Regions from separate parts of the Homo sapiens genome. Here regions 1, 2 and 3 are each linked to region 4. The links are contacts of gene promoters, found by promoter capture Hi-C in blood cells and fetal thymus (Javierre and others, 2016). All regions are on one chromosome and are shown on one strand. Each heading gives the region's core, a stretch centred on a gene start or on the middle of the fragment in contact. The rest is flanking DNA. Distances are from core to core; before and after follow the strand shown.

Region 1 (3,315 bases), core at 483-2,982, 430 kb after region 4:
CTCCAGCTTGGATGACAGAGCAAGACTCTGTCTCAAACCCCCCACCCCCCGCAAAAAAAACAAACAGCAACACACAATGAAATACCATTTCAATCTTATTAAGAATAAAAAAAGACAGGCAATAACAAGTTTTGTGTGCTTTTGTTTTTTTTGTCTGTTTGTTTGTTTGGAAAGAGTCTCACTCTGTTGTCCAGGCTGGAATGCAGAGGCATGAACATGGCTCGCTGCAGCCTTGACTTCCTGGGCTCGAGAGATCCTCCTGCATCAGCCTCCCCACCTGGGACCACAGGTGCATGCCATCACACCCAGCTAATCAATTTTTTTTTTTTGAGACAGGGTCTTACTGTGTTGCCCAGGCTGGTCTGAAACTCTTGGTCTCCAGCAATCCTTCCACCTCAGCCTCCCAAAATGCCGGAATGACAGACATCAGGCTCTGTGCCTGGCTAGTAACAAGTTTTGATGAAGATGTGAAGAAATTTGGAAACCTCATATATTGCCAGTGAAAATGCAAACTGGTGCAGCCCCTTTGGTTTCATTTACTTATTTATTTTTGAGATAAGTTTTCACTCTGTTGCTCAGGCTAGAGTGCAGTGATACAATTATAGCTCACTGTAGCCTCAACCTCCTGGCTCAAGTGATCCTACCCACTCGGCCTCCTGAGTATTTAAGAGTATCAGTGCAGGCCACCACACCCAGCTATATATTTTTTATATATATGTATGTGTATATATACACATATATATGTGTGTGTGTATATATATGTGTGTGTGTATGTATATGTACGTATATATGTGTGTATATATGTACATATATATATACGTGTATATGTGTGTATATACATACGTATATGTGTATATATACGTATATACGTGTATATATATGTGTATATATACGTGTATATATACGTGTGTATATATACGTGTATATATACGTGTGTATATATACGTGTATATATACGTGTGTATATATACGTGTATATATACGTGTGTATATATACGTGTATATATACGTGTGTATATATACGTGTATATATACGTGTGTATATATACGTGTATATATACGTGTGTATATATACGTGTATATATACGTGTGTATATATACGTGTATATATACGTGTGTATATATACGTGTATATATACGTGTGTATATATACGTGTATATATACGTGTGTATATATACGTGTATATATACGTGTGTATATATACGTGTATATATACGTGTGTATATATACGTGTATATATACGTGTGTATATATACGTGTATATATACGTGTGTATATATACGTGTATATATGTGTGTATATATACGTGTATATATATGTGTGTATATATACGTGTATATATATACGTGTGTATATATACGTGTATATATATACGTGTGTATATGTGTATATATATACGTGTATATATATACGCGTATATATATACGTGTATATATATATATATATATTTTTTTTTTCTTGGTAGAGGCAGGGTCTTATTATGTTGCTCAGGCTGACCTTGAACTCCTCAAGTGATCCTTCTGCCTTGGCCTCCCAAAGTGCTAGGATTACAGATGTGAGTCACCATGCCACACCCTGGAAAAGAGTGTGGTAAACAGGCAGTTCTTCAAAATGTTGAGTATAGAGTTCCCATATGACCCAGCAGTTTTACTGCTAAGTGTGTACACCAAAGAACTGAAAACCTAGGTCCACACAAAGACCTGTACAAGAATATTCATAACATGACAAAAAGGAATTTGAGGAAATCTAAAAAAAAAAAAAGAATATTCATAGAAGCATTTTCATAGTAGACAAAAGGTGGGAACAACACAAATATTCATCAACTGATGAATGGATAAATAAAATGTGGCACATAATACAATGTAATATTATTCAGCCGTAAAAAGGAATGGAATTGTGATCCATGCTACATCATGGATGACCCTTGGAAAGATTCTTTTTTTTTAAAATTAAATGTTTTGAGACAGTATCTCACTCTGTTGCCCAGGCTGGAGTGCAGCGGCCTGATCACGGCTCACTGCAGCCTGGATCTCCCAAGGTTCAGGTGATCCTCGTGCCTCAGCCCCCAAAACAGCTGGGAATGCAGGTGCTCACCACCATGCCTGACTGATTTTTGTATTTTTAGTAGAGATGGGGTTTCGCCATGTTGCCCAGGCTGTTCTCAAACTCCTGGGCTCAAACGATCTACCCACCTCGGTCTCACAAAGTACTGTGATTATAGGTGTGAGACACCACGACCAGCCTGGAAATATATCTGAAGTGAAGGAAGCCAGTCACAAAAGACCACATAGGGTAAAATTTCATGCATTATAAAATGTTCAGAACAGGCCAATCTATAAACACAGAAAGTGGCTTGGTGGTTTCCAGAAACTGGGGTGAAGGTGGAATGATAAGTGACTGCTAATGCGGACAAGGTTTCTTTTTGGAGTGATAAAAATATTAAAACACTCTCTACCAATAACCTGGAGGAAAATAAACACTCAACATCCATTTAAAAATGTAATAAAGATAAAGACGTGGTTGTGCCTTTGGGTTCAAAATATAACTGGGTTGAAGTGGATGTCTCCTGCTGCCTGGCCAGCCTGTGCCTTCTTTTACTAGGGTGACAGCCTCTGGCTTCTCTTGAAGAACAAGCCCCGGTTCTGTGTGGTTCTGGTGGAAATGTTATTGAAAGGACTCCTTACCTCCCACTAAGGGGCAAATACTTTGGCTTGGAAATTTGAACTGAATTAAATGGCCTAAGGAAACTGTTGAGATGGAATCATTCTCAGGATAGCACTTGAAATCTTTCCCTCCTTCCTTCCTTCTTTCCTTCCTTCCTTCCCTTCCTCCCTCCCTCCCTCCCTCCTTCCCTTCCCTCCCTCCCTTCCTCCTTCCTTCCTTCCCTCCCTTTCTTTTTTTTGAAACAGAGTTTCACTTTTGTCATCCAGGCTGGAGTGCAATAGCATGATCTCGGCACACTGCAACCTCCACCTCCTGGGCTCAAGTGATTCTCCTGCCTCAGCCTCCCAAGTAGCGGGGATTACAGGTGCCCGCCACCATGCCCAGCTAAGTTTTGTATTTTTAGTAGAGATGGGGTTTTGCCGTGTTGGCCAGGCTGGTCTCGAACTCCAGACCTCCCAGTCCTGCTGCCTGGACTCTCCTGGAGATTGTTAGAAGCCCTAGCCCAGACCTCCTGCATCAAATTCTGCAGTTCAACAAGATCCACAGGTGCACTGTATACTCTTTAATGTTTGAAAAACTAGAGCAGAGGTTGGCAACCACAGCCGCACATTAGAATCACCTGAGACACTGGAAAACCCTCCCAGTGCCCA
Region 2 (3,039 bases), core at 66-2,565, 390 kb after region 4:
AAGGCAAGTTCTCCATAAAGATGAGATACACATTTAGCTCATGTGGCATACCGTGTTCTAAACAGGACTTGATCAGACCTGAAGGCCCGATACATAGCCTCCTTTCTCTCTCCTCTCTCTCTCTGAACACCTTTAGTGAGATCTAACTATATAAGTCACCTACTTAAAGCACACAATTCAGTGATTTTTAGTGTATTCACACAGTCATGTAGTCATCACCACAATCGATTTCAGAACGTTTTTATCATCCAAAAAGAAACCCCATACCTGTTAGCTGTCACTCCCCATTTTTCCCCAGCCTCCCCAGTTCCCCAGTCCATGGCAGGCCTACATTCTCTGTCTGATGGATTTCCCTCTTCTGAGCATTTCGAGTGAATGTGTTCCCTTGATTCTGGCTTCTGACACTTAGCATCATGTTTTCAGGGTTCATCCATGTTGTAGCATGTATCAGCACTACATTCCTTGTTATGGCTGCATAGTACCTCATTGTGTACTGCATTTTAAAAACCTGTTCATCAGTTGAACGTTGGGGTTGTTTCCACTTTTGACTATTTTAAATAATGCTGCTGTGAACATTTGTCTATTTGTTTTTGTGTGCTCATAGGTTTTCATTTCTCTTGGATATGTACCTAGAATGAAAAAGCTGAGTAACATGATAACTCTATATTCAACTTTTGAGGAACAGCGCAGCTAGACTGTTTGCCGAAGTGGCCGCCACTTTACATTGCCCCCAGCAGTGTCTGAGGGCTCCGATTCCTTCACATCCTCACTAACAGTTGTTTTCTATCTTTTCGATTATAGCCATCCCAGTGGGTTTGAAGAGGTATCTCATTGTGGTTTTGATTGCATCCCCCTGAGGACTAATGGTGTTGAACATCATTTAATGTGCTTGCTCGTCATTGGCATATCTTCTTTAGGAAAATATTTATTCAGATTCCTTGCCCATTTTTAAATTGGGTAATTGTCTTTCTATTATTGAGCTGTAGGAGTTTTAAAAATTATATATTCTAGATATAATTCCCTTATCAGATATCTGATTTGAAAAATTACTGTCCCATTCTAAGGGATGTCTTTTCATTTTCTCATGTCTTTTGAAACTTAAAAATTTTTAATCTTGCTTATATCTAACATCTATCTTTTCTTCAGTTGCTAGTGTTTGGGGTGTCATATTTAAGAAACTCTTGCCTAATCCAGGTCACAAAGATTTATGCCTATATTTTCTTTTTAAGTTTTATAGTTTCAGCTCTTACATTTAGGCCTGTGATCCATTTTTAGTTAATTTTTTTGTATATAGTATAAGGTAAGGTTCCACATTTATTATTTTCCTTGTAGATATCTATTTATCCCAGCATAATTTGTTGAAAAGTCTATTCTTTCCCCCATCAAATGGTCTTGGCACCCTAGTTGAAAAATCACTTGGCGGCCGGGAGCGGTGGCTCACGCCTGTAATCCCAGTGCATTGGGAGGCCGAGGCGGGCAGATCAGGAGGTCAGGAGTTCAAGACCAGCCTGACCAATATGGTGAAACCCCGTCTCTACTAAAAATACAAAAATTTGCCAGGTGTGGCGGCCTGCGCCTGTAGTCCCAGCTACTCAGGAGGCTGAAGCAGGAGAATCACTTGAACCTGGGAGGCGGAGGTTGTAGTGAGCCAAGATCTCGCCACTGCACTCCAGCCTGGGCAACATAGCAAGACTCTATCTCAAAAAAAAAAGAAAGAAAATCACTTGGCAAATAGGTGTATAGATTTATTTGTAGACTCTCAATTCTATTCCATTGATTCTCAATTATTTTCTTATGCTGGTACCACACTGTCTTGATTGCTATAGCTTTGTGGTACATTTTGAAATTGAGAAGTGTGAGTCCTCCAACTTCATCCTTTTTTTTCAAGATTGTGTTAGCTGTTTTAGGTCCATTGTATTTCCTTATGAAATTTAGGATCAGGCCAGGTGCAGTGGCTCACGCTTGTAGTCCCAGCACTTTGGGAGGCCAAGGCGGGTGGATCTCCTGAGGTCAGGTATTTGAGATCAGCCTGGCCAACATGGTGAAATCCCATCTCTACCAAAAAGACAAAAATTAGCTGGGTGTGGTAGCGCACACCTGTAATCTCAGCTCCTGGGGAGGCTGAGGCAGGAGAATCGCTTGAACCTAGAGGTTGCAGTGAGCCGGGATTGTGCCACTGCACTCCAGCCTGGGTGACAGAGCAAAACTTTGTCTCAAATTTAAAAAAGAAGAAGAAGAAGAAGAAGAAGAAATTTAGGATCAGGCTAGGCATGGCGGCTCACGCCTGTAATCCCAGCACTTTGGGAGGCTGAGGTGGGCAGATCACGAGATCAGGAGTTTGAGACCAGCCTGGCCAACATGGTGAAATCCCATCTCTACTAAAAATACAAAAATTAGCCAGGTGTGGTAGTGGCCACCTGTAATCCCAGCTACTCGGGTGGCTGAGGCAGGATAATCGCTTGAACCTGAGAGGCGGAGGCTGCAGTGAGCCGAGGTTGTGCCACTGCACTCCAGCCTGGGCAACAGAGCAAGACTCTGTCTCAAAAAAAAAAAAATTTAAGATCAGTTTGTCAATTTCTGCAAAGAAACCAGTTGGAATATTGATAGGGACTGTGTTGAATCTGTAGATCCGTTTGGGGAATATTGCCATTTTAAAAATATTAAGTCTTTCAGTGGGTTCAGTGTCTCATGCCTGTAATCCCAGGGATTTGGGAGGCCAAGGTAGGAGGATTGCTTGAGGCCAGGAGTTTGAGGCCAGGAGTTTGAGGCCAGGAGTTTGAGACCATGTTTGGCAACATAGCAAGACTGTATATCTATGAAAAAATGAATATAAGTTAGCTGGGCATGGTGGCACATGCCTGTAGTTGCAGGGAGCTATGATCATATCACTGCACTTCAACCAGGGTGACAGAGCAAGACCCTGTTTCAAAAAAAATAAACAAATAAGCCTTTATTTAAAAAAAATTTTTTTAGAAACATTGTCTTCCTTTGTTGCCCACACTGGAGTGCAGTGGCATGATCACAATTCCCTGCAGTTTG
Region 3 (3,150 bases), core at 136-2,635, 410 kb after region 4:
GAGCCCAGGAGTTCGAGACCAGCCTGGGAAACATGGTGAAACCCCATCTCTACAAAAAACACAAAAATTAGCTGAGCATGGTGACACACGCTTGTAGTCCCAGCTACTCAGGAGGCTGAGCCTGAATCCACCTTGAGCCCAGGAAGGTCAAAACTGCAGTGAGGTATGACTGCACGCTGCACTCCAGCCTGGGCGACAGAGTGAGACTCTATCTCAAAAAAAGAAAAAAAAGTCTTGCATATGTAGTATTCAAAATTGTTATGCTCCCAAACCAGTACCTGGCAAGCAAAGTTTCATTGGTTTTCATTGTTTAGCATGACATCTCTGTCTCCCTTCCCTTTTCTTGTACTGTTTCCTCTTGTTGGATATTGATGATTGAGCTGAAATGACTGGTGCAGTACATCTCTGACTCTGCTCTCTCCAGATGTGGAGCTGTTGAATTGCAGACTCTGCATTGAGCACCATCAAGAGAGGAGTATCATGCCATAACCCACTTACAGCTTGGAGTTTGCAGTCTTGGCCTCCAAGCTCACTGGCAGACACAGATTCCCATAAAAACCAAGCATGTGGAAAGGCAAAAGGAAAGGAAAGACTTAATTTTCATATATGATTTTATATATATTTAAAATATTAAATATGTTCTTTTAAGTATTTCCCCATATTTCCATCACATCTACTAATTGGCTTACTTGGATTTATACTAATACATTTGTACTAATAATTCTTGGTCTTTGGATCACTGTTTATATATGGATTGGTTTAATAGCTAACAGTAAACCCCAGGATAATAGTGGCTTTCATGAAATAGAAACTTATTTTTTATTTCGCATAATGGAAGTCTGGGTATAGGTAATGCAGGACTGGTATGATAGCTTCTCAGTCCTCAGTGACCCAGGATCCTTCCAGTTTAACTTTTTGCCAACCCTAGAGTGATCCATATCTTCATAATTCAATATAGCTGCTAGAGCTCCAGCCATTCTGGCTGAATTCCAGAAAGGGAAGGACGAAGGAAGAAGTAAGGAGATACATCAGCTGTCTTTTAACTTTTCCTGGAAGCTGCCATATACACTTGTACTTACATCTCATTGAATGTAGTGGTTTTTTTTTTTTTTTTTTGAGACAGAGTCTCACTCTGTTACCCAGGCTGGAGTGGAATGGCGAGATCTTGGCTCACTGCAACCTCGCCTCCCCTGTTCAAGTGATTCTCCTGCCTCAGCCTCCTATGTAGCTGGGATTACAGGCACCCACCACCATCCATCCCTGGCTAATTTTTGTATTTTTAATAAAGACAGGGTTTCACCATGTTGGCCAGGCTTGTCTCGAACTCCTGACCTCAAGTGATCTGCCTGCCTCGGCCTCCCAAAGTGCTGGAATTACAGGCGTGAGCCACCGCACCCAGCCTGAAAATGTAGTCTTTGTTTTGAATGACCTTGTACCCAGCCGAAAATCATGGATCTGTTAAGGAAGAAAGGGAGAACGGATATTATGGTGGGCAACAAGCAGCTGTTGCAAATCTGTTTCTTGCAGATTGTTGTTAAACGATATTATGGCTGATGTGAATGCAATGCAGATTTCTTTTTGGAGTGATTAAGTGCAGTTCTTATCATGGATCTCAGGGAGCCAGTGAAAGGGATATGGAGAAGAAGCTCAGCCAGATGTCAGCCAGGCTTGACAAAATAGAAGAGGGTCAAAAGAAGACTTTTGATGGTCAGAGAACAAGGCAAGAAGAGGAGAAGATGCACGGGCGAATCACCAAGCTGGAGTTACAGATGAACCAGAACATCAAGGAAATGAAAGCAGAAGTTAATGCTGGTAGGCCAAAACCAGAACAGCTCACGTGCTTTATTTTCTGTTTGTTCTAAAACCTATTAATTAGTATCCCCTGCAACTACCTATGAACCTGGCTAATGGTAATAACCGTGAAATATCCTTAGTTGATTTTCTGAGTAGCTGTGCTGTATTTTCTAAGTAGCTACAATGCTGTTTGAATTTCAGCTATATAAAGAGCCACCGTGAGAGACAGGCAAACAGAACTGAAATTGCTTAGCCTGCAACTGAGGTACATTTTCTTCAGCACCATCGGCCAATTCTTTTCTGTTCATAGCCAAGGTTAACATGTCTCAGAAGGAAGCACATATCTTTGAGGGGGTTTTGAGGGCTTATTTTATAGTGCTAGCAGTACAGTACCACCCTGGCAAAGAATGATTTTCCTCTACTGGCAGGTCAGCAGGGCGCATTAATTCACACTTGCTTAGAGGAGAACATTAGCACTGATTTCAAGTTCTGAGTGCTGTCATATATGGGAGGGATTAGATTTACGCTCTGAACTCAGGAATACAGAACTGTGACCACTAAGTGGAAGGTACCCGAAGACAGATTTTAACTCAATATGAGGCAGAAGTACCTTGAAGTTAATGAGTCCTAAAAGACTGATGGCTTTCGGAGCTTGAGAGCTCTTTGTTACAGAAAATATTCAAGTAGAGGCTGGTTGATTGTGGTCAGGAAGAAGACGTTCCTGTAGTGTGAGAAGTGGAACTAAATTCTCTCCTAGCTTCTTCCAGTTGTATGATTCCATGAATTTTCTTCTATGAAATTGTTCTGTTTTGGCCACATGGAAATAAAAGTGCTAGTTATCCCTAGAATAATTTTGTTATTACCACCAAATGTTTATTATTTTATTTATAGGAGCTACAATTAAATATATGAATTGGAGAACTTGTAAAGATAAAAATGAATTTTCTTTCTTAGTCTTTGGACTATTAAAATATGGTATTTGAATATTTCATCAATGTTTAACCTCGCATCATTCCCTGAAGGAATGTATTGTTATTTAACATACCATTGAGGATGTTAATATTTAGCACCTAATATGAAAAGCATCTGAGCCTTTTAAAAAATAAAGCCATTTTCTTTATTACAAAGACAATATATTTCTTCTTTCTTCCTTTTTTTTTTTTGTTTTGGAGACAGAATCTTGCTCTGTTGCCAGCCTGGAGTGCAGTGGCGTGATCTTGGCTCACTGCAACCTCTGCCTTCAGGGTACAAGCGATTCTCCTGCCTCAGCCTCCTGAGTAGCTGGGATTACAGGCGCCTGACATCACGGCCGGCTAATTTTTTTTTTTTTTTTTTAATAGAAACAAGGTTTCACCA
Region 4 (3,266 bases), core at 452-2,951:
ACATTATTTTGTTCCTTTTTATTGCTGAGTAGTATTCCATGGTGTATATATACCACATTTTCTGTACCCACTCGGTCGATGGGCACTTAGGTTGGCAATTGTGAATTGTGCTGCTGTAAACATACATGTGCAAGTGTCTTCTTCATATAATGACTTCTTTTCCTTTGGGTAGATACCCAGTAGTGGAATTGCTGGACCAAATGGTAGAACTACTTTTTGTTCTTTAAGGAATCACCATACTTTTTTCCATAGAAGTTGTACATTCCTACCAGCAGTGTTTAAGCATTCCCTTTTCCCCACATCCACGCCTACACTGTTTTTTGACTATTGTTTTTTGAGGTTTTTTTTCTTTTTTAGACAGGGTTTCAATGTGTTGCCCAGGCTGGAGTACTGTGGCACAATCATGGCTCACTGCAGCCTCAGACTCATGGGATCAAGGGATCCTCCTGCCCCAACACACGGCCCCCCGCCCCCCGCCCCCCGCCCCCCTCCCAGTACCTGGGACTACAGGTGCTCACCACTACACCCGGCTAATATTTGTATTTTTGTAGAGACGGGGTTTTGCCATGTTGCCCAGGCTGGTCTTGAACACCTGGGCTCAAATGATCTGCCCAACAGGCCTCCCAAAGTGCTGGGATTACAGGTGTGAGCCACTGCGCCCGGCCTTTTTTTCTGACTTTTTAATGATGGCCATTCTTGCAGGAGTAAGGTGGTATCTCCTTGTGGTATTAACTTGCATTTCTTCGATGATCAGTGATGTTGAGCATTTTTTCATGTATTTGTTGGCCATTTGAATATCTTTTGAGAAATATCTATTCATGTCCTTTGCCCATTTTTTGATGGCATTATTTTCTTTCTTGCTGATTTGAGTTCCTTCTAGATTCTGGACACTAGGCCTTTTTCCGATGCATAGTTTGCAAATATTTTCTCTTAATCTGTGGTTGTCTATTATTTCTTTTGATGTGCAGAAGCTTTTTAGTTTAATTAGGTCCCATTTATGTATTTTTGTTTTTGTTGCATTTGCTTTTGGGGTCTTAGACATGAATTCTTTGCTTGGGCTGATTATTAGACGAACATTTATTGAGCACCAACCATATACGACAAACGATGTACTAGGTGTTGGGAATACAATGGAGAACTTACATGAATCACCAGTCACACAAATCTCTTTTATCTTTTTTTTTTTTTTTTTGCCTTACTTGAGAATTTGGGTTTTTGAGTAAACGCCATTATTCTCTCTTTTTTTAAGCACACTTTTGCATCTCAACCACCTAACACACTGCATCCCTGAGCAACCCGGAGGGGCCGGTTCCTGCACCCAGGCCAACACAACTTAAACCCCAACACACCAGAAGAGGAATAAAGGCCAACCAACTTCCGCCCACCCACTACAAACGTCGAGAGAAATTCGTAGATGAGGCCTTGTCAAAATTCAGAGGCGTCCTACGTCTGCTTTCCCAATGAGACAGTTCCTTTTTGTTTGTCTCAGAGACTGGGGTTTTTTTTTTTTTAAAAGACTGTAGGCAGAAAAAACACCCCAACCGGCTGTTGTGACAATCAAACGTGTCTAAGAAAATTCAGCCAATGAGAGTGCGAGAGTGCATCTTGTGTTGGCCAATGAGAACAGCGACCCGTGCGCAGGGCCGCCCAATGGGGCGCAAGCGACGCGGTATTTGAATCCTGGAACAAGGCTACAGCGTCGAAGATCCCCAGCGCTGCGGGCTCGGAGAGCAGTCCTAACGGCGCCTCGTACGCTAGTGTCCTCCCTTTTCAGTCCGCGTCCCTCCCTGGGCCGGGCTGGCACTCTTGCCTTCCCCGTCCCTCATGGCGCTGCTCCGACGCCCGACGGTGAGTGTGCCCGGGGACCGCTCTCAGAGGCGAGTCCGTCGGCCCCACAGCTCCCCTGTCGCTTCTCTCATCTGCTCCGAGCTTCTCCGTCCCAACCGGGGCTGCTTTTCTCTTCTCCGGAGCTCACTGCTTCGCCCGCGTCCCTGGCCCTGCGGCCGGTCCTCTCCGGCCCGCCTTTCCCCGTCTGGATTCCGCCCTCCCCTAACCCCTCCCTGCCCCGGGGTGGGAGAAGTGTAGGAAAGCGCTTCCGAGATGGCGCCTGTCAAGTGAGCCCCCAGAGCACTAGGCCTAGTACTCAGCGAGCGATCCCCGAGTGCTCTTCATTGCTAGAGAGTTATCTACTTCCACGTTCCTGGGATTTCCCTCCCCCTTTCTTACAACTCCTTGCCAACTAAGGGACCTGTGATGGCGGCTGGGAGGAGGACTGGAAGGGTTCTGTAGGCAGTAAAGTGTACGGCGTGTTTCATCAGGCAACTGCCAGGCTGTTTTTCAGATTGTTCACATTTCTTTTTGTATGAGTTTCCCATTTATTTCGGCACGCTAAGTCTTCCATGCTACGTTCACTAATAAATGGGTTTGTCCCCTTAAAAAATTAATTTCTTTACTCAAATGTAACAGAGGTTTTTGAATATAATTTGGACCAATGTGGCAGACTGAGAGAAAAGGGTCCAAATTCATTTATTTCATCCTTGCAGAGATCAAAGTGTTATGGTGTTTTGGGTATTTTTCCTGTGGGCTTGAATTGTACCGGGACCTACTTTTTTCCTTTGCCGAAAGCTAGAGGGCCCTGACACACCTGAGTTCCATCATCTTGGCTATAAGGTTAGATAAAAGCTGCCAATTTTCCTATCCAGATGAATTTAAATTGAGTCACATTACCAGGCTTCTACCCATAAGCATTACATTTTCAAACACTTTTTCAGATTGGCAGTTGCTGCTGGAAGAAATTGAAGTGTGACTTTTGAGAATCCTAATAGATTGAATACATTTAGCATTTAATTAATATCCTTTTGTGGATCTAAGTCCAACTGACAAGTAATTTTTTATAATAATGTATTCTATAACGTTATTTAATAGTCAAAACCTTTCTGTTCAGGGAAGGCTTGAGTTTCCCTGGCCCCTCTCTCTGCCTGGTAGATCCACTCAAACCCCTTGTTGGGAGTTTTATTAGAGTCGGGACCCTGAACTCTCAGGGATAGGACATGCTGGTTTTTTGCTTTTTTCTTTTTTAATGAAATGTTTATCACTTCTATAATAAACTTTTTTTGGTATGAGTTGCTTTTCCTAGCAAGTTTTATTTCCAAGCACATTATGTCTAAAGCAGGTTAAGGTCAACTGACAATTTTTATTTCATACAATTCCAACCTTCCCTGAGTTTGGGAGCTAAAACTATATTACTCAAGAAAACTACTTCCATT

The links. The method cuts DNA at HindIII sites, captures the fragments that hold promoters and counts their contacts. A CHiCAGO score of 5 or more calls a contact.
Region 1: a contact is called between a fragment that was not itself captured here and the fragment with the promoter of CCNB2 in region 4, in 1 of 17 cell types (neutrophils). The highest score is 6.1, in neutrophils.
Region 2: a fragment that was not itself captured here is called in contact with the fragment with the promoter of CCNB2 in region 4 in 2 of 17 cell types (M1 macrophages and monocytes); the score reaches 5.9 in M1 macrophages.
Region 3: a contact is called between a fragment that was not itself captured here and the fragment with the promoter of CCNB2 in region 4, in 3 of 17 cell types (monocytes, naive CD8 T cells and non-activated CD4 T cells). The highest score is 7.7, in monocytes.

Annotation. Positions count from the first base shown.
Region 1 is chr15:59,538,400-59,541,714 of GRCh38, forward strand. No RefSeq gene overlaps it. Among named protein-coding and RNA genes, the nearest start is that of GCNT3, 72 kb to the right of the region's middle. The HindIII fragment of the contact is 5,264 bases long and covers 1-3,315 here.
Region 2 is chr15:59,494,904-59,497,942 of GRCh38, forward strand. The region is part of intron 4 of FAM81A (family with sequence similarity 81 member A); the gene reads left to right. Among named protein-coding and RNA genes, the nearest start is that of FAM81A, 58 kb to the left of the region's middle. The HindIII fragment of the contact is 9,786 bases long and covers 1-3,039 here.
Region 3 is chr15:59,515,029-59,518,178 of GRCh38, forward strand. FAM81A (family with sequence similarity 81 member A) reads left to right here. Exons shown (of 9, transcript NM_152450.3): 8 at 1,617-1,812. Among named protein-coding and RNA genes, the nearest start is that of FAM81A, 78 kb to the left of the region's middle. RefSeq lists an enhancer at 231-300. The HindIII fragment of the contact is 7,154 bases long and covers 1-3,150 here.
Region 4 is chr15:59,103,445-59,106,710 of GRCh38, forward strand. CCNB2 (cyclin B2) reads left to right here and starts at 1,702. Exons shown (of 9, transcript NM_004701.4): 1 at 1,702-1,848. The coding sequence starts at 1,825. RefSeq lists an enhancer at 1,225-1,514. The HindIII fragment of the contact is 2,621 bases long and covers 970-3,266 here.